Regions from separate parts of the Homo sapiens genome. Here regions 2, 3, 4, 5 and 6 are each linked to region 1. The links are contacts of gene promoters, found by promoter capture Hi-C in blood cells and fetal thymus (Javierre and others, 2016). All regions are on one chromosome and are shown on one strand. Each heading gives the region's core, a stretch centred on a gene start or on the middle of the fragment in contact. The rest is flanking DNA. Distances are from core to core; before and after follow the strand shown. Region 1 holds the start of CXorf38 (chromosome X open reading frame 38). Region 2 overlaps DDX3X (DEAD-box helicase 3 X-linked). Region 3 has its middle 17 kb from the start of LINC02601. Region 4 has its middle 34 kb from the start of LINC02601. Region 5 overlaps USP9X (ubiquitin specific peptidase 9 X-linked). Region 6 overlaps USP9X (ubiquitin specific peptidase 9 X-linked).

Evidence for each region. The method cuts DNA at HindIII sites, captures the fragments that hold promoters and counts their contacts. A CHiCAGO score of 5 or more calls a contact.
Region 2: a contact is called between a fragment that was not itself captured here and the fragment with the promoter of CXorf38 in region 1, in 10 of 17 cell types (fetal thymus, total CD8 T cells, total CD4 T cells and 7 more). The highest score is 11.6, in fetal thymus.
Region 3: a fragment that was not itself captured here is called in contact with the fragment with the promoter of CXorf38 in region 1 in 7 of 17 cell types (endothelial precursors, megakaryocytes, monocytes and 4 more); the score reaches 6.7 in endothelial precursors.
Region 4: a fragment that was not itself captured here is called in contact with the fragment with the promoter of CXorf38 in region 1 in 3 of 17 cell types (monocytes, neutrophils and megakaryocytes); the score reaches 10.7 in monocytes.
Region 5: a fragment that was not itself captured here is called in contact with the fragment with the promoter of CXorf38 in region 1 in 4 of 17 cell types (monocytes, total CD4 T cells, naive CD4 T cells and 1 more); the score reaches 7.4 in monocytes.
Region 6: a fragment that was not itself captured here is called in contact with the fragment with the promoter of CXorf38 in region 1 in 13 of 17 cell types (naive B cells, total CD8 T cells, naive CD4 T cells and 10 more); the score reaches 10.7 in naive B cells.

What each region holds. Positions count from the first base shown.
Region 1 is chrX:40,645,911-40,649,681 of GRCh38, forward strand. It overlaps CXorf38 (chromosome X open reading frame 38), which reads right to left and starts at 1,651. Exons shown (of 7, transcript NM_144970.3): 1 at 1,395-1,651; 2 at 1,097-1,231. The coding sequence starts at 1,610. MED14 (mediator complex subunit 14) reads right to left here. Exons shown (of 31, transcript NM_004229.4): 31 at 2,395-3,771. RefSeq lists an enhancer at 832-1,031 and silencers at 1,282-1,431, 1,552-1,851, 1,687-1,867. The HindIII fragment of the contact is 2,915 bases long and covers 917-3,771 here.
Region 2 is chrX:41,337,611-41,340,110 of GRCh38, forward strand. DDX3X (DEAD-box helicase 3 X-linked) reads left to right here. Exons shown (of 17, transcript NM_001356.5): 3 at 1,426-1,473. Among named protein-coding and RNA genes, the nearest start is that of DDX3X, 4.7 kb to the left of the region's middle. The HindIII fragment of the contact is 3,587 bases long and covers 1-2,500 here.
Region 3 is chrX:41,256,616-41,260,386 of GRCh38, forward strand. No RefSeq gene overlaps it. Among named protein-coding and RNA genes, the nearest start is that of LINC02601, 17 kb to the right of the region's middle. The HindIII fragment of the contact is 1,343 bases long and covers 1,197-2,539 here.
Region 4 is chrX:41,239,420-41,243,190 of GRCh38, forward strand. No RefSeq gene overlaps it. Among named protein-coding and RNA genes, the nearest start is that of LINC02601, 34 kb to the right of the region's middle. The HindIII fragment of the contact is 2,511 bases long and covers 345-2,855 here.
Region 5 is chrX:41,219,844-41,223,614 of GRCh38, forward strand. USP9X (ubiquitin specific peptidase 9 X-linked) reads left to right here. Exons shown (of 45, transcript NM_001039591.3): 39 at 3,374-3,559. Among named protein-coding and RNA genes, the nearest start is that of LINC02601, 54 kb to the right of the region's middle. The HindIII fragment of the contact is 5,585 bases long and covers 1-3,771 here.
Region 6 is chrX:41,176,625-41,180,395 of GRCh38, forward strand. All of the region lies in intron 21 of USP9X (ubiquitin specific peptidase 9 X-linked), which reads left to right. Among named protein-coding and RNA genes, the nearest start is that of USP9X, 93 kb to the left of the region's middle. The HindIII fragment of the contact is 715 bases long and covers 1,361-2,075 here.

The sequences.
Region 1 (3,771 bases), core at 401-2,900:
CCCGGCCCCAATTCCTTTCATTTTTTTTTTTTTTTTTTTTTTTTTTTTTTTTTTTTTTTTTTTTTGAGACGGAGTCTCGTTCTGTCGCCCAGGCGGGAGTGCAGTGGCGCGATCTCCGCTCACTGCAAGCTCCGCCTCCCGGGTTCACGCCATTCTCCTGCCTCAGCCTCCCGAGTAGCTGGGACTACAGGCGCCCGCCACTGCGCCCGGCTAATTTTTTTGTATTTTTAGTAGAGACGGGGTTTCACCGTGGTCTCGATCTCCTGACCTCATGATCCGCCCGCCTCGGCCTCCCAAAGTGCTGGGATTACAGGCGTGAGCCACTGCGCCCGGCCGTCCTTTCATTTTTGAGATTGGGGAGCACAAGCTGGCCCAGTGTCACACCACGGCAGCTGATCCAGGACTCAGATCATCTGCTTCCCAGGCACTGCTCCTTTCCAGTGCCCACCCTGTGCCTGCTGATAACTACTGGCATGTAGACTGACTGCTAAAGTCAATTTGTGTTAGGAAGCCACTTCTGGCTGTCCCTCTCCGTCCCTTACTGGGCAAAAAAATTTCCTACTCGATCTACTTAGTAAGTGACATTGCCAAGATCTGAAGACAGATCCGGCTGCCTACCCCATTCCCAGCTACCCAAAGTGCCTTTAACTGGGCACTTAAGGTGCTATTTTAGCCCTAACTTCCCTTGGCTTACTCTGTCATCCTTACGGCATCCTATAGCCAAAAAAGAGCTGATGAGCTGTTCAGCGAGCCTTACCCTCAAACAGGCCACACAAGAGTCTCCCTCCCTCCCTGCCTGTGCTCATGATGCTCGCTCTGCATCTTGCCCCAGTATCTCTTGTAGAACTCTTTCCTGTAACTTTCCAAGCAGGGGTAACAAACTCAAATGCCCTCAGGAAGCAGACGGGTAGAAGAAAGCTTCTACTTCACTAAGCTGGGTTGGGTCCCGCATACCACCCCTGAACCGCCTAGACCCTTGATCAATCTCTCTCTCTGCATCTGTTTATGAGGCCCCGGCGACCACAAGACCAGATAGCCACCCCGAGTGCTGGGTGACCCGCCGCTTCCTCCTTCCGTCCCCGCCTCAGGCGCTTACCTTGGCCACCTCCCAGGCGTCCACGGGCCAGCGGCCCGGCCGGCAGTTTCCCCAGTGCACATCTCCATTTCTGTTGACATGATGTCTCAAAATCTCCCTTTTCCATTCAGCGCACACCTGACACTGAGGCTGAAACTACAGGGGGCGGCGGTGAGGAGGGGCCCAGGAGGGAGGGACGTCGCGGTGGGCCCCGCATCGCGGAGGGAACAGGACACTTGCGCTCTGGGTCTGGGACAGGAACGGGGATGAGGAGGGGTGGGGTGGGGGCGGTGGTCAAGGCCCCGAGCCAGGTGCTCACCTGGCGGGCGCGAGGGCTGCACCGTGAGCCGCCGCGGCAGACGGCGCGGGGCCCCAGGCCGGGGGCTGCGGCGAGTAGGCCGCGGTGGAAGGAGAGCACCTCGCGGCCGACGAAACCCTGCAGGCAGCTGCGCAGCAGTAACAGGCAGTGGCCCGCCTTCACCCAGTTCTTGTACTCGGCGCAGTTGAGGCGCGCCGCTAGCTCCGACAGCACCATGTCTCCCACTTGGAACCAGGAGGTTGCGGGGCGTGGCGGACGGCAGTGCGCAGGCGCGGAGCCTGGGAAGTACCCGAGGCAGCGGCGCCTGCGCCGGCGGCAGCGACGCCTGCGCCTGCGCGGCGCGGTGCCACCGATCCCGGGGCGGGGCATCTTGACTTCCGGGGCACGTCGGCTCCACCCCACTTGGGTGACGTCTGACGTCTGACGTCTAACAACTTTGGTGCTTGGGGAAGCAGTTAACTATTTGAAACCCTTAGGCCCTCTTCGTCCCCCAAACAGAGACCCTGTCAGCATCCGATTCGACTCCCTCTCCTAATGTAGGGCACTTCTGTTTTAACTTTTTTTTATTGTCCAGATGTACAAGGTGCTCAGGGCACATTGCTTGAATCGTGTATGTTCTTTGCATTATACAATTCTAGAGTTACTGGTTCCTAAGCCCACAGACCAGCTGTAGCAAATTGAGGTATTAGTGAAACGTGACCGCTGGCTGCCTGCGGTGTGCCAAGCTAACCCAAAACTCAAAATCCCCCGCCACTGGACCACCCAGAAGGGGGCGTTTGCCTGTTTAGGGCAACACATCACTTGGATTCTAGAAGGCTGCACACCTGAGCCAGATAAGGGCATCCTGAAGCACCTAGCAAAGGTTAGACGATAATTATCTAGTATTCTTGATTATATGATAATTAGTGCTCCTTGCACATGGAAGTCTGATTTAAGTTCCAAAGAAGTGCCACAAAGGTCAGAAGGCACTGGGATTGTCAACTCCAAGTGACAAGTCAGGTCAGTTTTAGTTGTTTTTAATGAGCTTTCTGAGCTTGGAAAACATGTCAAAATTGTGTGTAGTTAAAAGCCTCTGAGGAAAGAGTCTAAACATTAAACCTTCCCGACTGTGGTTCACAGCAAAAATGTCCAGTGTTTAGGAGCACTAGCTCAGACTCAAACTGCCCCTTCTTAGCAGTTTGATCTTAAGCAACCTTAATTTGATCTCAGGCAAATTACATTTCTCTGGGCCTCCATTTACTCATTTTTAAGAAGAGGATATCAATAACCTACCACATTGGGTTGTTGTGAGGATTAAATACACATTGAAATATTAAGAAAATGCCTAGCACACAGTAAGCTCTCAGTAAATACTTGCTATTATTTTATATTGACCTAAATATGCCCTTTCATCAATCAGTTATATTCTTGGGCAAGGTATTTTAACAAATCACTGGCCACTTGGAAGTGGAGGCAACTTGCAGAAAATTGTGAGCATACCATGGAGTTCCTGGAGTTGTGCAGCACAGTGCTGGCTGGCCTCTGCTAACTTTGTCTTAATAACCTCAATGCTAAATCCATCCTAAGTAAATTTAAATCACATCCTTAGACACACTGTCCATTCTCAAACCGAATGAAAAAAAAATTCCACAAGAAACAATGAAATACACATTAACATTTTCCCTCTATGTCCCTTGAATGTAAGTTCTCTTAAAATTTTCTGTATACTGATTTTATATCAAGAACACTTGGATGATAAATAAACATTAAGGTAAAATGTAATAGGCACTTCTTTTGGGGGGAAAAACTATGAAAGGAACAACTTTTTATATTGAAATTGCATCAGAATCCAGGGTAGCAAAGTTATAACTTCTTGAAGTTATCAAATTAACCACAGTCCAAAGAATGGCTGTTAGTATCCTTTGGCTGAACAGATTACTGTGTTAATTAGAACACAGTTATTAGTGGTTCTTAAATTCAAAGTCATATAAATTTTAGTTTATGCTTGCACTTAACTCACTCAGTTAATTTTCAAACATAAGGTTCGACTCCTGTTATTAGCGACTTGACACGTTCTGCTGAAGCTCTCACTTTTCTTCTAATTCTGAAAGTACTTTTATACATTCTGAAATGGCATTTCAGCAGATGGAAAAATGAAGGTGGCAAATCAGGACCAATTTCTTATTTCAAGGTTAAATTAATACTAAACCAGACTATTAATGAAAACATCTTCATCAAAATTAACTAGAGAGTTGGTAGTTCTCTGAAACTTTGTATAAATTTTATTTATTACTGTAAATACTAAAATCACATTGAAAACACCTTAAAGTTAAGTCCCAACCCGATTATTAGAGAAAATCACTTGGGCATCCAGTCCCCTTGATCGAACCTGGGTAAC
Region 2 (2,500 bases), core at 1-2,500, 690 kb after region 1:
GTACTTAGTGATCAATCTAAAGCATCGTTGCCTTTTTTTTTTTTTTTTGGTTGAGATGGAGCTTTGCTCTTGTTGCCCAGGTTGGAGTGCAATGGTGTGATCTCGGCTCACCGCAGTCTCTGCCTCCGGGTTCAAGCGATTCTCCTGCCTCAGCCTCCCGAATAGCTGTGCCTTTCTGATAATAAAACATCAATGACTAGCTGGCTCTCTTGAGTAAAAGCAGCTAATCATTGGAAAGAACCTTATTATATCAAATTATCTCTAGAAGAGTTTTTGTCCATTATAAATCCTGAGCCCAGTTTAGAGGTGATGGGAATGTGTCCCTGTTAACTGACTATATTTATTAAATTGAATTAAGGGAATATGCATTTCATTGGTTATAGCTACTCCTTTCTCCTGAAGAACAGAAGACTATACTGAATTTTGGATTGGTGGTTAGGTTAGGTTTTCAAATGTGTCATTTCTTTTAAAAAGGCATTAGAAAAGTTGCTTTTTTTCTTCTAAGGGGGGTTATTTAGAGACTTGTTAGAGGTTAGTGTTAAGATAGGGGATCTTGGTGGTTTATTATAAGGGCAATAGACCCTTATTTTTAGCTCAGATCTCTTCCTACTTATTAAAACAAAAGTGAGTATGGGCTATGATGTGTCCTCATTTTTAGGCAAGAACAGCTTCACTGGGAACAAAACTTGGTGTTTGCTTTAACTTTCACCTTATTTGTCATGCTAAGAATCTTTTAGGAACTGATTGTCCTAGTAGAGATTTTTAAAAATATTTAATTCAGTCTAGAAGTGAAAAAGAAAAATGACACGTTTACTAGTTATAAAGCAAATTTATTTGGCTTTATGTTGTTTTTTTTGCTTATCCATATTCTAGGCTGTACTCCTGCTCGCATACAGAGCAACTGTCAACTTTCCTTAAACTCAGCAAGCCCCAAATTAAAACCTGCAATTCCTTGAAATTAACTCCCCTTTGCAGCTTTTCCTTGTTTATTTATTGTATGTTTTGCAACTTACTGGCATAGAAACAAAAGATTGTGAGATATGTTACATGAGTAATCTTAAATTGTTACAGTAATACTTAATGCTTTTGTTGACAGTTTTGATGACAGTTCTCTTAAATCTAGCAGGCCTTTAAAAAAATCACATTAAATGACCACTGGTGGCTAAATGTGCTCAATTTGTGGATTTCAACTATTAGGTTCCAAATCAGCTTTTTTTTATCAAACTCCTTTCAGAGTTCTCCTTATGAAGCAGTAACCCATTTAAAATTAGATTCTTATTTTTCCCCCCTCTCAGTGTCCAGGTAAGTAATCAGATTGGAAGGCTGGAGATTTTAATTTCCCAGAACCATTTTTTAGTAACAGAAATTTAAATGGGAAGGTTTTTTGGCATTTAATTAATTTTATATATATATATATTTTTTTAGAAGGGCGCTATATTCCTCCTCATTTAAGGAACCGAGAAGCTACTAAAGGTAGGTCCTCACAAGTAACTTCGTAGGTCTATTTTTTGCCTCCTTTAGAAGTTAGTAAAGCCTAAGGAAAACCAGGCATTTGGGGGAGGTCTAAACATGGTGTTGTTTTTCTATGCTTCTGTCAGCCTTGGTTCAAATACTAGAGCTTAATAATTTTGGAAGAACTCATCTAATGTTACGCAGTGGGAAATTCGGCATTCCTATGTCAAACTGTTCTGACGCCAAGGGCATGGTTTTGTACAGTTTCACTAGTGTTGTGCTGAATCTGTTTGTAATCATTCACAGCATGGTTTTAGTTTGGAAGAGGTGGGTGCCCTACTGTGTAAACCAAGCTGTATAATGATAACAACCTGGTTATTTCTGTCTTGGCAAAGTTGCTAGAAATGAAGATGGGCTTATTGTAGAACAGTTAACAAGTTACAGCGTTGGAAGTGATTCTCTGGTTTCATCTCCTTGCCTTGCTGCTTTTGAAAGGTTTTGTCCAAAATGTATTACAATATCTGGTGTCTTTTCCCATTGTAATTGTAACGTAGTGATAGATGACAGCTAGTATATGTTTCATATTATGAGACAGCTGTTCGGGTGCTTTATATTCTGTAAAATAGACCATCCAAAATTTGGAGGAAAAGGGAAAGTCAGGAAAACCAAAGATTAGGAGGGAAGATACTGTATAAAGAAGGCAGATAGGAAGAGTGGAGAGTCCACAGGGGAGCACATGGTTTGCTGCTGTTCCTCCATCTCCATATGTAGTCTGTATTACCTTCACTGTCCTGGCAATGCATGGATATAAAATCTGTATTATTTCTACCAGAAGATCACTTTGGCTTTTTTTTTTTTTTTTTTTTTTTGAGACGGAGCCTTGCTCTGCTGCGGAGGCTGGAGTGCAGTAGCGCGGGCTCACTGCAACCTCCGCCTCCTGGGTTCAAGTGATTCTCCTGCCTCAGCCTCCCAAGTAGCTGGGATCACAGGCATGTGCCACCATGCCCGGCTAATTTTTGTATATTTAGTAGAGACGGGGTTTTGCCTT
Region 3 (3,771 bases), core at 618-3,117, 610 kb after region 1:
GGTCAAATTGGTCCATGAGTATTGCCAATTTAGAGTATTTAAGGTTAGTTCCTGAACATGAAACCTTGATATACCCTGAAAACTTACCGCTTTTATATGAAAGAAACTTGATAGAGGTTTTCCCAAATTTGACAACAATCCTAAAAATGTGCACAGAATTATTAATTATGAAAATGTAAAGCTGACATTTTTCTAAACTATCAGTAATGAAAACCAAATTTCTATCAACCATGTTAGAACAAAAACTGAACGATCTAACTATCTTTATTTATTTATTTATTTTTTTTTTTTGAGACGGAGTCTGGCTCCGTCACCCAGGCTGGAGGGCAGTGGCACTGTCTCAGCTCACTGCAACCTCCGCCTCCTGGATTCAAGCGATTCTCCTGCCTCAGCCTCCCGAGTAGCTGGGACTACAGATATGCGCCACCTCCTATGCCCGGCTAATTTTCGTATTATTAGTAGAGATGGGGTTTCACCATGTTGGCTAGGCTGGTCTCAAACTCCTGACCTCAGGTGATCCACCTGCCTCGGCCTCCCAAAGTGCTGGGATTACAGGCGTGAGCCACCACGCCCAGCCAAAAACTGAATTATCTTTCTATCCTCTCCCTAGAAAATATTATAAAGTTGCGGCCACACGAAAAGGTGATCAAAGAGTATGCAGTCAAAAATTACAGGGGGAAAAAGGGCCATTGAGGTTTGTTAAGCAGTTAACAAAACTTTGTTAGTTTTCTGAATTATATGAAATTTGAGGTATTTCTCAGCTTTGAAAACATTGTGAATTGCGTTTTCTTTCTAATTCTAAATAGGCATCCCTTTCCTACCTAATTTTGCATTCACATTTTGTGGTTTTTAAAACATTTTTATTAAAATTTTTTTTTTCTTTTAAATAAAGACGAAATCTTCCTATGTTGCCCAGGCTGGTCTTGAACTCCTGGGCTCAAGCAATCCTCCTGCCTCGGCCTCCCAAAGTGCTGAGATTACAGGCGTGAACCACTGTGCCTGGCCTGTGTTCTTTTTTTTAAAGGGCTTCCCAAAATTGTATAATCTTTAGGGACCACAAAACCTGGGTCCACCCCCATGCATGCATGCACACACGTGCACATGCATGATCGCACATGTGCATGCACCCCAATGCACACATGTACACATATTCCAGAAAATTCATAGAATCACCAAATTATCACAGATTTATTCAAAGCTTGCTCCAAAGAGAATTATTTTTGCTAATTAAGTTAACTTTACTAATTAAACTATTTTTCCCATTGGTTCCCCCAGTACCTTCTGTTCCTTTAGTGTCACCCCCCAAAAAATTGCAGAGGACCGCTTTGGGCCATTATCGCATAATTCTCTCAGACAGAAGGGGTGGTTTTCCTTCCTCTTTCGTCTGTCGGGTATTTTAAGATTGTCATCATCTGTTATGCGAAAAAAAAATCAAACTTTCATTTTTATGTTAATTTCCATGAGCTAAACGTTCATTTTGTTTTACTGACATTTATAGAAACAGGTTTTTTAGAAGTCTGTTACTCAAAGTTAAGTGGATGCAACCTGAAGAGGGGTACCTCGTCCCCTGAAATCTATGATAACATCCTCCTTGGTAGGGAGGCTCTGGTCCCATGATGGGATTTTTGCTGACCTAGAAGAAGAAATATAAGAGGCATACGGGTACGCCAGATGGTGAAAAATAGGTTTACAGCACCAAAATAGTGTTGTTTCTTCTTTATTAAAAACTAGGCTAGTATTGAATGCCAGAAGGCGCGAAATCCAGCACTGAGGAAGAATCTCCACATTTAGCATTCATCTTGGCACGCATGACAAGGCAGGGGACAGTGGGCGCCCCAGCCTGGTGGGGGGCATTGCTGCAGGCTGGCTTCTGCGGCACACAGGATCTGGGAGGTCCGAGGCTGGGAAGGCCAGCTTGGCCCCCGTTCCCCATCCCCACCACCATCAGACTGGAAGTCCGCAGCTCTGTACACTCTGACTCACCGCATCTCCTTCATACTAGATTCTAATGTCCAAGAACCAGGAAGGCTGGAACCTTGACCTCCAAGAAGTCCTAGCTTCTTCAGTGTCATTGTTGGTAACTGCCATCTTTAAAAGTTTCCCCCAGGCTGGACGCGGTGGCCCACGCCGGTAATCATGAGCCACCGCCAGATTGGGAGGCCGAGGTGGGCGGAACACTTGAGATCAGGAGTTTGAACCCCGTCTCTACTAAAAATACAAAAAATTAGCCGGGCGTGGTGGTGGACGCCTGTAATCCCAGCTACTCGGGAGGCCGAGGCAGGAGAATTGCTTGAACCCGGGAGGCAGAGGTTGCAGTGAGCGGAGATCGAGTCACTGCATTCCAGCCTGGGTGACAGAGCGAGACACCGTCTCGAAAAAATAAAATTTCCCTCAAACCATTAGCAACCAGTCTCCTTCGAGCTCTCCAATTGAGAAACTAGAATTCAAGAGGGTTAGGCTCTTCGCCAGCAAAATCCTTATCACCTGCGTCATCCCTCTCTGAGTCGGGTAGCTTTTGCTGCAAAACCGACCCCCACAAAGCTTAGGGCCTTAAAACACCAACATTTTGTTGTTGTTGTTGTTGAGACAGGGTCTTGCTCTGTCACCCAGGCTGGAGTGCAGTGGCACGATCACAGCTCCCTGAAGCCTTGACCTCCTGGGCTGAATCGATCCTCCCACCTCAGCCTCCTGAGTAGCTGGGACTACAGGCACACACCACCGCGCCCAGCTAATTTTTTAATTTTTTTGTAGAGACAGGGTCTCCCTATGTTGCCCAGGTTGGTCTTGAACTCCTGGGCTCAAGCGGTCCCCCCACCTCGGTCTTCCAAGTAGCTAGGACCACAGACATGGCCAGCTAATTTTTTGATTTTTTGTAGAGATGGGGTCTTACTGTGTTACCCAGGCTGGTCTTGAACTCCTGGGCTCAAGCGATCCTTCTGCCTCCGCCTCTCAAAGTGCTGGGATTATAGGCATGAAGCCAAAACACCAACTGTTGATTTAGCTTTTGCTGCTGCCGGCTGGCAATCTGGGCTGAGCTCAGCTGATACACATGGCTCCCACCTGCATCTGCCAGACTGGCTGCGGATGGGCTGGTCTGGAGTGACCTCAGCTGGTCGGATCGTCGTTCGTCTGCCTGGTCCTGCATCCCCAGCAGGCTAGCCCACGTTTGTTCATAGGGAGGCGGCGGGGTTCCAGGAGAGTGAACAGAAATCGCAGAAATGCTCAAGGTCTCTTGCCATTGAGGCCTGGAGCAGGCACAATGTGAAGTATTCAACCGGTCAAAGCAAGTCCCAAGGCCAGCCCAGGCTCAAGGCCTGCACCTCTTGATTCAAAGAGCTACCCTGCATTGAGAAGGAGTGGGGGCACAGGAAGGGTAATTATTGTAAATAATGCATTGTAAATATTGTATTTTTTCTTTAAAAAGATTTTTTTTTTTTGAGACGAAGTCTTTCTGTCACCAGGCTGGAGTGCAGTGGCACAATCTTGGCTCACTGCAACCTCCGCCTCCTGGCTTCAAGCAATTCTCCTGCCTCAGCCTCCTGAGTAGCTGGGACTACAGGCGCATGCCACCATGCCCAGCTAATTTTTGTATTTTTAGTAGAGATGGGGTTTTACCATGTTGGCCAGGATGGTCTCGATCTCTTGACCTCATGATCTAACCACCTCGGCCTCCCAAAGTGCTGGGATTACAGGTGTGAGCCACCATGCCCGGCCTTAAAAAGATTTTCTTGTGATAAAATATACATAAAATTTGCCATTGTAACCATTTTT
Region 4 (3,771 bases), core at 350-2,849, 590 kb after region 1:
AGTGCAGTGGCGTGATCTCAGCGCACTGCAACCTCCACATCCTGGGTTCAAGAGATTCTCCTGCCTCAGCCTCCCGAGTAGCTGGGATTACAGGCGTGTGCCACCATGCCCGGCTAATTTTTGTATTTTTAGTAGAGACAGGGTTTCGCCATGTTGGCCAGGCTGGTCTCGAACTCCTGACCTCAGGTGATCTGCCCACCTTATCCTCTCAAAGTGCTGCGATTAGAGGCGTGAGCCACTGCACCCAATCCAAGATCAGAATTTTTATCTAACAGAAAAACAAAAAACAAAAATTCAGACTTGCACTAAAATGGTAGCAGGTTTGCCTTACTAATGGCCACTGAAGCTTGGTTTAATAACTTAGTAACGTTAAGTGCTAGATAAACTGGATGTTGGGTTGTTGTTTAGCACTTATCAGCACAGCGTTAGACACTGATATTAGCAGGCCTGGCGCGGTGGCTCACGTCTATAATCCCAACACTTTGGGAGGCCGAGGCGGGTGGATCACCTGAGATCAGGAGTTCTAGACCAGCCTGATCAACATGGTGAAACCGGGTCTCTACTAAAAATACAAAAATAATTAGCCGGGCATGGTGGCGGGCACCTCTAATCCCAGTTACTCTGGAGGCTGAGGCAGGAGAATTGCTTGAACCGGGGAGGCGGAGGTTGCAGTGGGCCGAGATGGCGCCGTTGCACTTCAGCCTGGGCAACAAGAGCAAAGTTCCATCTCAAAAGAAAAAAAAAAAAAGGAAGAAAGTCCATAAACCCCACCCATGTTCAAGGGGAGGGGCATCTCACATTGGCCGGGCACGGTGGCTCACGCCTGTAATCCCAGCACTTTGGGAGGCCGAGGCGGGCGGATTACCTGAGGTCAGGAGTTCGAGACCAGCCTGACTAACATGGAGAAACCCCATCTCTACTAAAAATACAAAATTAGCCGGGTGTGGTGGTGCATGCCTGCAATCCCAGCTACTCGGGAGGCTGAAGCAGGAGAATCGCTTGAACCCGGGAGGCGGAGGTTGCAGTGAGCCATTGCACTCCAGCCTGGGCAATGAGAGCGAAACTCTGTCTCAAAAAAAGAAAAAAAGAAAAAAAAAGAAATGGCTACAGGATGTCCCTCTCATTCTGTGTTTTTGTCTCTAGAAAAGGATGATAAAGTAACCAAGAGTGACACTTATATTATCAGGTGCTTTTGAGGAGTAATAATTTATCAATATGCAATCCACATTTAGGCTTTTAACTGCTGTTCCGCTATGCTGAAGTGCAATGGGCAATACTCATCACAAAAGCAGCTTAGAGCTGTAAACAAAAAAGAGGAATTACTTTTAGGGAAGCTGGTTTAACTGTACAAATTTAAAGTCAAGAATTAACTTAAGATTTAAGGCTAGAACTAAAAGAAAGCATATATAACGTCATACCTGAATCTCCTACTAAATTCTGAAGTTTGGCATTAGGTTGGTTTGAAAACAGTTGTTAAAACGTGGCCTTCTGGCCTGGCGCAGTGGCTCACGCCTGTGATTCCAACACTTTGGGAGGCCGAGGCAGGCGGATCACTGGAAGTCAGGAGATTGTAACCAGCCTGGCCAACATGGTGAAACCCCATCTCTACTAAAAAATACAAAAATTAGCCGGGCATGGTGGCAGGCACCTGTAATCCCAGCTACTTGGGAGGCTGAGGCAGGAGAATCGCTTGAACCCGGGAGGTGGAAGTTGCAATGAGCCAAGATCACGCCATTGCACTCCAGCCTGGGCAACAAGAGCAAAACTCCATCTCAAAAACAAAACAAAACAAAACAAAACAAAAACTTGGCCTTCTAAATTTGACTAGTGAATGGGGGAAAAGTCAAGTAAGGTTTGTTTGTTTTTTTATTCCGAATTTGTTTACAGATGTACCGTAGCTGAAATACAGTGTTACATTTTGTGTCTAGATTAAAAGAAAATACAGTTGCCTAAAATAATATCCCATATTTTAAATTATGCTGTACATCAATTGCAGTAGTTTTTTTCACCCCACAGTAGTTCTTTGCAATGCGTTTAGCGTGAACTCCTGTTGAGGAGCAGCTTTTGTTACAAATTCGATGTGGGATTACAACTTTGAAAACTGAAATACGCCTTTTATTTTTTTGTAGCTCTGATTTGAACCTCATTTGAAAATAAGTACATTGAAGATTTATACTAACACATTTCCAGTGGCTGAGATCAAGTGTTATAACCACTACTTTGAATGAAAAGAAAATGTGCTAATGTGCTGTACAAAACACACGGGTCCCAGGAAGAAAATAAAATAGCAGCCCATATTTTCAAGTGATAGCAGGTTGTACCCTGACTCAGCACCAATCCATCCAAATCCTTTAGCAGCTTTAAAATGTGGATGTCAGCCGGGCGCGGTGGCTCACGCCTGTAATCCCAGCACTTTGGGAGGCTGAGGCGGGTGGATCACCTGAGGTCGGGAGTTCGAGACCAGCCTGACCAACATGGAGAAACCCCGTGTCTACTAAAAATACAAAAAATTAGCCGGGCATGGTGGCGCATTCCTGTAATCCCAGCTACTTGGCAGGCTGAGGCAGGAGAATTGCTTGAACCTGGGAGGCGGAGGTTGCAGTGAGCTGAGATCGCGCCCTCGCTCTCCAGCCTGGGCAACAAGAGCGAAACTCCATCTCAAAAAAAAAAAAAAAAAAAATGTGGATGTCGCAGGCCCCAGTGGTGACTTCGGTACAGCACCAAACAAGAAGTGGGCGTGTGAGCTCTGTGTTCTGGCCCAGAGGGGCAATGCCTAGTTCTAAGAAAGCAGTCTGTGTACGGTTCTTCTCAAGTCTGGTCTCCACTCCAAATGTTTTCCTCCATTAGAAAATAAAAGCTTGTTTATTCATATGAAACCCTACCGTGGTGACTTTGATTAAAAATGCATCTCCTTTATAACTTTCGCAAATGGGCTGAATTTAGACTGTGCCTACTTGTAGCCACTTGTCAAGTCTCCAAGACAGGAATTTTTCTCATCTGCATTTCAAAAACTCTTGTCTTTGTTACAATAAACTTTCTCTTCATCAGAAGTTAATTTTAGGCCGGGTGTGGTGGCTCAGGCCTGGAATCTCAGTACTTTGGAAGGCCAAGGTGGGCGGGTCACCTGAGGTCAAGAGTTCGAGACCAGCCTGGCCAACATGGTAAAACTCTGTCTCTACTAAAAATACAAAAATTAGCCAGGCGTGGTGGCATGCACTTGTAATCCCAGCTACTTAAGAGGCCGAGGCAGGAGAATCACTTGAACCCGGAAGGCAGAGGCTGCAGTGAGCTAAGATCATGCCACTGCACTCCAGCCTGGGTGACAGAGACTCCGTCTCAAAAAAAAAAAAAAAAAAACTTAATTGTGCTGTCATAATCACTCAGGAATAATAATGCTGCAAAGATGTTATGGGACTGAAGAAACAATGTAAAGAAAGGAGGTGGCCGGGCGCGGTGGCTCACGCCTGTAATCCCAGCACTTTGGGAGGCTGAGGCGGGCAGATCACAAGGTCAGGAGATCTAGACCATCCTTGCTAACACGGTGAAACTCCGTCTCTACTAAAAATACAAAAAATTAGCCGAGCGTGGTGGCGGGCACCTGTAGTCCTAGCTACATGGGAGGCTGAAGCAGGAGAATGGCGTGAACCCGGGAGGCGGAGCTTGCAGTGAGCCAAGATCACGCCACTGCACTCCAGCCTGGGCGACAGAGCGAGACTCCGTCTCAAAAAAAAAAAAAAAAAGGAGGTGAGGGTGGCCATCACAACTGAGGCA
Region 5 (3,771 bases), core at 816-3,315, 570 kb after region 1:
ATGTAGTGGCATATGCCTGTAGTCCTAGCTACTTGGGAGGCTGAGGTGGGAGAATCACTTGAGCTAAGGAGGTTGAGGCTGCAGTGACCCGTGATTGCACCACTGCACTCCAGCCTGGGCAACAGAATGAGACCCTGTCTCCAAAAAGCAAACAAACCAAAAAGTCATATATCCAAAATGAAGTTCTATATCCAGGCGTACCTGTCGTTTCAGGTTTTTTTTCTGTGATCTTACTTAATCACCATTGGATCCATGGCCCTTTTAACATAAGGGAGATTGTACTTTTCATTTGTCTATTTAGTTTGTCTTCTTTTCCCTTGTCTTTTCCGTAATTGCAGATATTTGGGTATTTGTAGATGAGAAAGAGAATATTTATTACACAGACAAGCATAAGTGGAATCTGTATTTCAAACTTAAAAATGCCAAATTTAGACATTCAGAAGAATCCTATTCTGTTCAACTCTTTTAGATATTGCCTGTTCACAAAGCACACATCATTGTTCCATAATGTAACCTACTTGTAAAATTTTCCTGCTGAAAACAAATACTGTAGGGCCTGTAAACCTTAATATGAAGTCCTTAAGATCAGATATGCATTGGGATTGAGAATTGTTTGGATTTAAGAAAAGCAAGGCAGTGCATATACCAACATCTCTATAGCAGGGTCTGAGACAACAACTTACAATTGAACACATTAATATTTCTACAGTAAAATATGAATATTTATACTGAAGGGAGAAATAAAGACTATAAGTAGCCTTTAGTCAGTTTGGGCTAGGTTATCCCACCAACCACATTTTGACAGCAACTTAATGAAAAACTTTGTTGGGCTGGGCGAGGTGGCTCATGCCTGTAATCCCAGCACTTTGGGAGGCCGAGGCAGGCGGATCACCTGAGGTATGGAGTTCAAGACCAGCCTGGCAAACATGGCGAAACCCCATCTCTACTTAAAAATACAAAAATTAGCAGGGCGTGGTGGCGGGCATCTGTAGTCCCAGCTATTCGGGAGGCTGAGGCTTGAATCTGGGAGGCAGAGGTTGCAATGAGCCAAGATCGCGCCACTGCACTCCAGCCTGGGCAACAGGGCAAGACTCCGTCTCAAAAAAAAAAAAAAAACTTGTTATAATAATAGCTTTTGGGCCAGGCGCGGTGGCTCACGTCTGTAATCCCAGCACTTTGGGAGGCCGAGGCAGGCAGATCACAAGGTCAGGAGTTCAAGACCAGCCTGACCAACATGGTGAAACCCCGTCTCTACTAAATATACAAAAATTAGCCGGGCGTGGTGGCACATGCGTGTAATCCCAGCTACTCAGGAGGCTGAGGCAGAAGAATCGCTTGAACCCAGAAGGCGGAGGTTGCAGTGAGCTGAGATCACACCACTGCACTCCAGCCTGGGAGACAAAGCGAGACTCCATCTTAAAAAAAATTAAAAATTAAAATAGCTTTTGGAATCTTAGGATTTCAGATAAGAGGTTGTGGACCTGTTTTTATTATGTTTTTGGGAATATGGCAATAAATAAGATTGTCTAATGGGATATAGAAGCAAATAATGTAGTTGCCATAAAATATGTTAATAGCTATAATAGGGAAAATGCAAAGTGCATCACGGGGGGCATGGTACCTGAAGGGATTTGGGGAGTGCAGAAGACTTAATGGGGAATGTAACGTGGGAATTGGTTAGTTGAGCTTTCCATCTAGAGTGTGAACAGCAGATGCAAAGACTTGATAAACTTGGCGTGGCTTATTGGATGGGATGAAAATTGTCCAGTCTGACTAGAATTGATGTAAGATGGGAATGGCAGGAGTTTCTGATCATGCAGTTCTAATAGGCCTTGTGAGAGAGACTGAGGCATTGGATGAGCCATTGTAGGGTTTTGAACAGATAATACCATCTAGAAAGAGCACTGTGGCCACAGTGTGGAATGTATTGCAGTGGAGTAAGATCCCAGAGAGTGTTAAAATGATCTATAGACATAAGATCATTGTGACCTGTACTGGAGAACTGGCAGTGAGGGAGATACAAGTGGACAGATAGATATATGGTGCTTTTTATAAGAAGTGGAATCAGTGGATTTGGTGATGGGATATTCAGAGAAGGAGGGGACAGGGAAGAGATGTGAAGAATGATGCCCAAAATTCTAACATGAACAACTGTGAGTGGATAGTGGTACCATTTACTGAGGGGAAACACAGGAGGAGAAACATGTATGTATGGGAAGAAAGGGGTGAGTTCAGTTTGGGTAGATTGAGTTTGAGCCTGTGTGACACCCAAATGGAGATATACAGTAGAACAGTAAGTAATTTGTCTTGAAATGTTTTTGAATCATCTGAATGAAGATATCTAGAACATTAAAGCCGTGAGCGTGGGCTAGATCATCCAGGGAAATCAGTGTGAGAAGATAGCCTGGCATGGGAACTTGGAGAAACATCAGTTTTTAAGAGACAAGGAGGAGTCGCAAATAAGAACAAAAAGAGGTAGAAAGAAAATCAGGAATCCAGGGAGGAAGAAGTGGTTATGGTTTGAGAACTGCTCCTTAGCTTATTACTGTGAAGAGGGGCCAAAACCAAATTGGCATGAGTTGAGGAATAGAAAATGAGAAAGTAGAGAGACCAAATGTAGGTATCTTTTTCAAGAAGTTTGGCTGTAGAGGAAAGAAGAGAGGCAGGCAATTTATAAAAGAGTTTTTGCTTCTCATTTAATGTAGTTATTTTGTTGTTTTCATCCTCCTTACAAATGAGGGTTGCAGTGTTGGTTAGTCCCTTTAGACTCTCCAGGCTGTAGAAAGTGTTCGTCTTCTGGTCGGGCGTGGTGGCTCATAATCCCAGCACTGTGGAAGGCCAAGGCGGGCAGATCATGAGGTCAAGATATCGAGACCACCCAGGCCAACATGGTGAAACCCCGTCTCTACTAAAAATACAAAAATTAGCTGGGCATGGTACGTGCCTGTAGTCCAGCTACTGGGGAGGCTCAGGCAGGAGAATTGCTTGAACCCGGGAGGCAGAGGTTGCAGTGAGCTGAGATCATGCTACTGCACTCCATCCTGGCGAGAGAGCGAGACTGTCTCAAAAAAGAAAGAAAGTGTTCATCTTCCTTACAGTGAGCCGGTGTGATTGGAATGTCATAGTCATAGTCACTGTTGAACAATGTTAATACTTATACTCAATGGGTGAGTTTTCTTTTCTAGTAAAATAATTCTCTGAATGCTAAGTAAAAGTGATAAAATTACAAATCAAAATTTTTCTGATCATAAAAATTATAGACAAGATATTTTGTATAACTACTTGTTTTATTCATGAAGCCCTTGCCATCTTAATTTTTTCCTCATATTTTTCTCCCTCTCTTTCTTCTCCCCTTCACTCCTTTTTGTTGTAGGTGTGGCAGAGAAGACACAGCTTCTGAAATTGAGTGTACCTGCTACTTTTATGCTTGTGTCTTTAGATGAAGGTCCAGGTCCTCCAATCAAATACCAGTATGCTGAATTAGGCAAATTATACTCAGTAGTGTCACAGCTGATCCGCTGTTGCAATGTCTCTTCAAGAATGCAGTCTTCAATCAATGGTAAATTTGAATGCTCCATTCTTTACACTAGTTTTGTTTGTTTGTTTGTTTTGAGACAGAGTTTTGCTGTTGTTGCCCAGGCTGGAGTGCAATGGCGTGATCTCGGCTCACTGTAACCTCCGCCTCCCTGGTTTAAGCCATTCTCCTGCCTCAGCCTCCCAAGTAGCTGGGATTACAGGTGCCCACCACCACGCCCGGCTAATTTTGTATTT
Region 6 (3,771 bases), core at 468-2,967, 530 kb after region 1:
TTCCTTTAAAAAGAAACAGGCTTCTGCTTACACATCTACCCAGCTGAGGGGGCTTTTTGCTTTGCTCATTTTAATTTTTTTGTTGAAGATTAACAGTTCTGTTGTTCTGGCTACTGTTGCCTGGAAGAAATCACACATGAACAAACTCACCTTCTGCATTATACTGACATCATTATATTTGCCAATTGATTGTGAGCTAATTGGGGTTATAGAAACGTGCTATAGCATAACAGACTGTAATTATTTCTCTCTAGGCTATTACTGATGGATATTATGTTTTCTTCTTTTTCCAGCATCATCTTTTACTGTCCTTGAGTTTTTTAACTAGCTTTTTATATTAAAATAATTTCAAACTGTTTACAAAGAATACAGTTGGCTCCCAAATTCAGTAATTAACAGTTTGCCGTAGTGATGGCAAAAGTTTCCTAACATTTGGAGAACAAGTTGTAGACAATCATCTTTTTCTTCCTAAATAGCTTAGTATATGTCTTCTAAAAACAAGAATGTTCTCACTTACATTAACATAGTATTATTCAAAATAAAAAAAATTTAGCATATACAGTAATATCATCTAATCTGCAGACCATTTTCATATTTTGACACTTTCCTCAGTATTGGACTTTATAACAATGTTTTCTGGTTGAGGATCTAAATCCAGGTTCATACATTGCATAATTATTCGGTATCTCTTTCAGTTGTCTTTAATCTGGAATAGTTCCTCAGTCTTTGTCTTTTGTGACTTTGTTTTTGAATGGCACATGTCAGTTGCGCTGAATATCTCTCATTGGGTCTTATCTGTTCTGATGATTATATGGAGGTTGTACATTTGACAGAGTACTACTTGTATGTTGATGTGTCTAAGAGCATCACATTGAGAGACACATGTCACTGTGTCTTTGGTGACATTAACCCAGATCACTTAGTTGATAGCTGCCAGGTTTCTCCTCTAAAGGAGAGAGATGCTTTGTGTAGAGAGATGCTTTGAGACTTCGTAACTATCTTTTTCCTCATCAAACATTTGTTTTATCATCTATTGTGATTGTTGCCTAAATGTTTTTACTATGATGGTTGCAAAATGGTAATTTTGTTTTAATTTTGTCATCCTTTCTACATTTATTAGTTGACATTCTATAAGGTAGTGCTTTGTTTTCTCGCCTTTATATTTGTCATATATGATCACTCTTATGGGTTTATTTTATTCATTGGGTTATAACCATTGTAATGGTTATTTATTTTGATGCTCAATTGTCCTAGATATGGTCAGTGGAAGCCCCTATAGGTTAGACCCAGACATACAACCTCAATTTTTTTAAGGTACTTTATTGTACTTTATTATTTTCTGGTATGAGAAGATGTTTCAAGCTTATCTATAGTATTTCCTCTGCCCCAGCTCTGGAATCTGCCATTCCAGAGTTTTTAGAAGGAAGGGTATTTAGAAATCAAAATCCGAGGTTTAAATCTTTTTTTTTTTTTTTTTTTTTTTTTTTTTTGAGACGGAGATTTTGCTCTGTTGCCCATGCTGGAGTAGTGCAGTGGCGTGATTTCGGCTCACTGCACCCTCTGCCTCCTGGGTTCAGGTGATTCTCCTGCCTCAGCCTCCCGAATAGCTGTGATTACAGGCACCTGCCCTCATGCCCGGCTAATTATTATATTTTTAGTAGAGACGAGGTTTCACCATGTTGGCCAGGCTGGTCTCGAACGCTTGACCTCAGGTGATCCACCCACCTCGGCCTACCAAAGTGCTAGGATTACAGGTGTGAACCACAGTGCCCCTGCCAAGTCATCCTTATTTCATTCTAATTGTGGTAAGGTGATACCTCATTGTGGTTTGGATTTGCATTTCCTTAATGATTAGTTATGTTGAGTGTGCTTTCATGTACATGTTGGCCATTTGGATGTCTTCTTTTGAGAAATATCTATTCAAGTCTTTTGCCCATTTTAAAAATCGGATTTTTTGCTGTTGAGTTCCTTATATATTCTGGATATTAACCCCTTGTCAGATGCATAGTTTGCAAATATTTTCTCCAATTCTGTAGATTTGTCTTTTTGTGGTCTTATTTCCTTTGTTGGGTAGAAGCTTTTTAGTTTAATGTAATTTCGTTTGTCTGTTTTTGTGTTTGTTGCCTGTGCTTTTGAAGTCTTAGCCAAAAAGTCCTTGCCCACACTAATGACATGAAACATTTCCCTTGTGTTTTCTTCTAGTAGTTTTATAGTTTCTGGTCTTACATTTAAGTTTTTAACCCATCTTGAGTTTATTTTTACATATGATGAATAATAGGGGTTTAGTTTCATTTTTCTGCATATGTATATTCTGTTTTTGCAACACCATTTTTATTCAAGAGATTGCCTTTTCCCCCAATGTGTGTTCTTGGCACCTTTGTTGAAAATCAGTTGTTTCTGATTATGTGGATTTATTTCTGGGTTCTCTATTCTGTTCAATTGATCTGTGTCTATTTTTGTGTCAATACCATGCTGTTTTGGTTACTATTGCTCTATAGTAAATTTTGAAGTCAAGTAGCTGATGCCTTCAGCTTTGTTCTTCTTACTCAAGATTGATTCGGCTATTTGGAGTCTTTTGTAGTTCCATATGAATTTTAGGAGTGTTTTTTGTATTTTTTTGTTTTACCTTGCAGATTCACCTCAAAGGATGTTTTTTCTATTTCTGTGAAGAATATAATTGGTATTTTAATAGAGATTGCATCAATCTGTAGATTGCTTTGGGTAATATGGACATTTTAACAATATTTGTTCTTCCAACCCATGAACATAGAATATTTTTCCATTTATTTGTGTCCTGTGTTCGTTCTTTCATCAGTTTTTTTTGTAGTGATCTTTCTCCTCCTTGCTTAAATTTATTCCTAGGCATCTTATATTTTTGTAGCTATTGTGAGATAACTTTCTTGATTTCTCTTTCAGATAGTTTGCTATTGGCAAATGGAAACACTACTTAGTTTTGTATATTGATTTTTGTATCCTGCAGTTAACTAACACAGGTTCACGCTTGTACCAGTCCAGCTTCCTAGTCATCTTCCATTCCGTATTTGTATCTCTACAGCAATGAGAAATCTGAAACCTGAGGGAGTTGGAAAGGCTTCTTAATCAGTCTTCAGCCTCTGTCTTTAGGCCTTCGAATCATTTGTGCCTTCCCAAGTGTTTGTTGTTTTCATACCCTTGGCTTTTCTCAGATTTAGTGGGGCATTAATTTATAGGCACCCTCTTCTCCTTGCCTTCACAACAACTAAACCAACTTCACAACTTCAGCTAAACCAACTATCTATCCCCATCTTCACTACACCGTCAGTAATTTGTTGACAGCTGTTTAATGTGTTGCTTCCCCTTCTGTTTTTATGTTCTTTTGAGTTTATGTATTTTTATATTCATTCATTCTCATTTTAGTGGGGTTTGGGGATGAAGTACTGATAAATATAGTGCAGTACACCATATTTAGTTGACATAATTTTTAAAGCTGTCTTCTGCTTTTATTACCTCCATTTTCTAAATTAAACACCTTGTTGGGCTTCTCATCTTGCTTTGCAATTATTATGGGACAGAAGCATTTCACATTAGATTCTTAGCTAAGGCTTCTCTCAAAAGATATATTTCATTCTTGTCTGTTACATCGTTTAGAATTTACATAGTTTCATTTGTTAGTATTTCAGTAATAGTCCTTGCAGTGCTTTACTGCAGATTCAACCTTCACAACATACTGTAAAAACACAAACCCACCACTGAATCCTTGATCTTGTGATTGGCGCTTAATGCCACCAGATG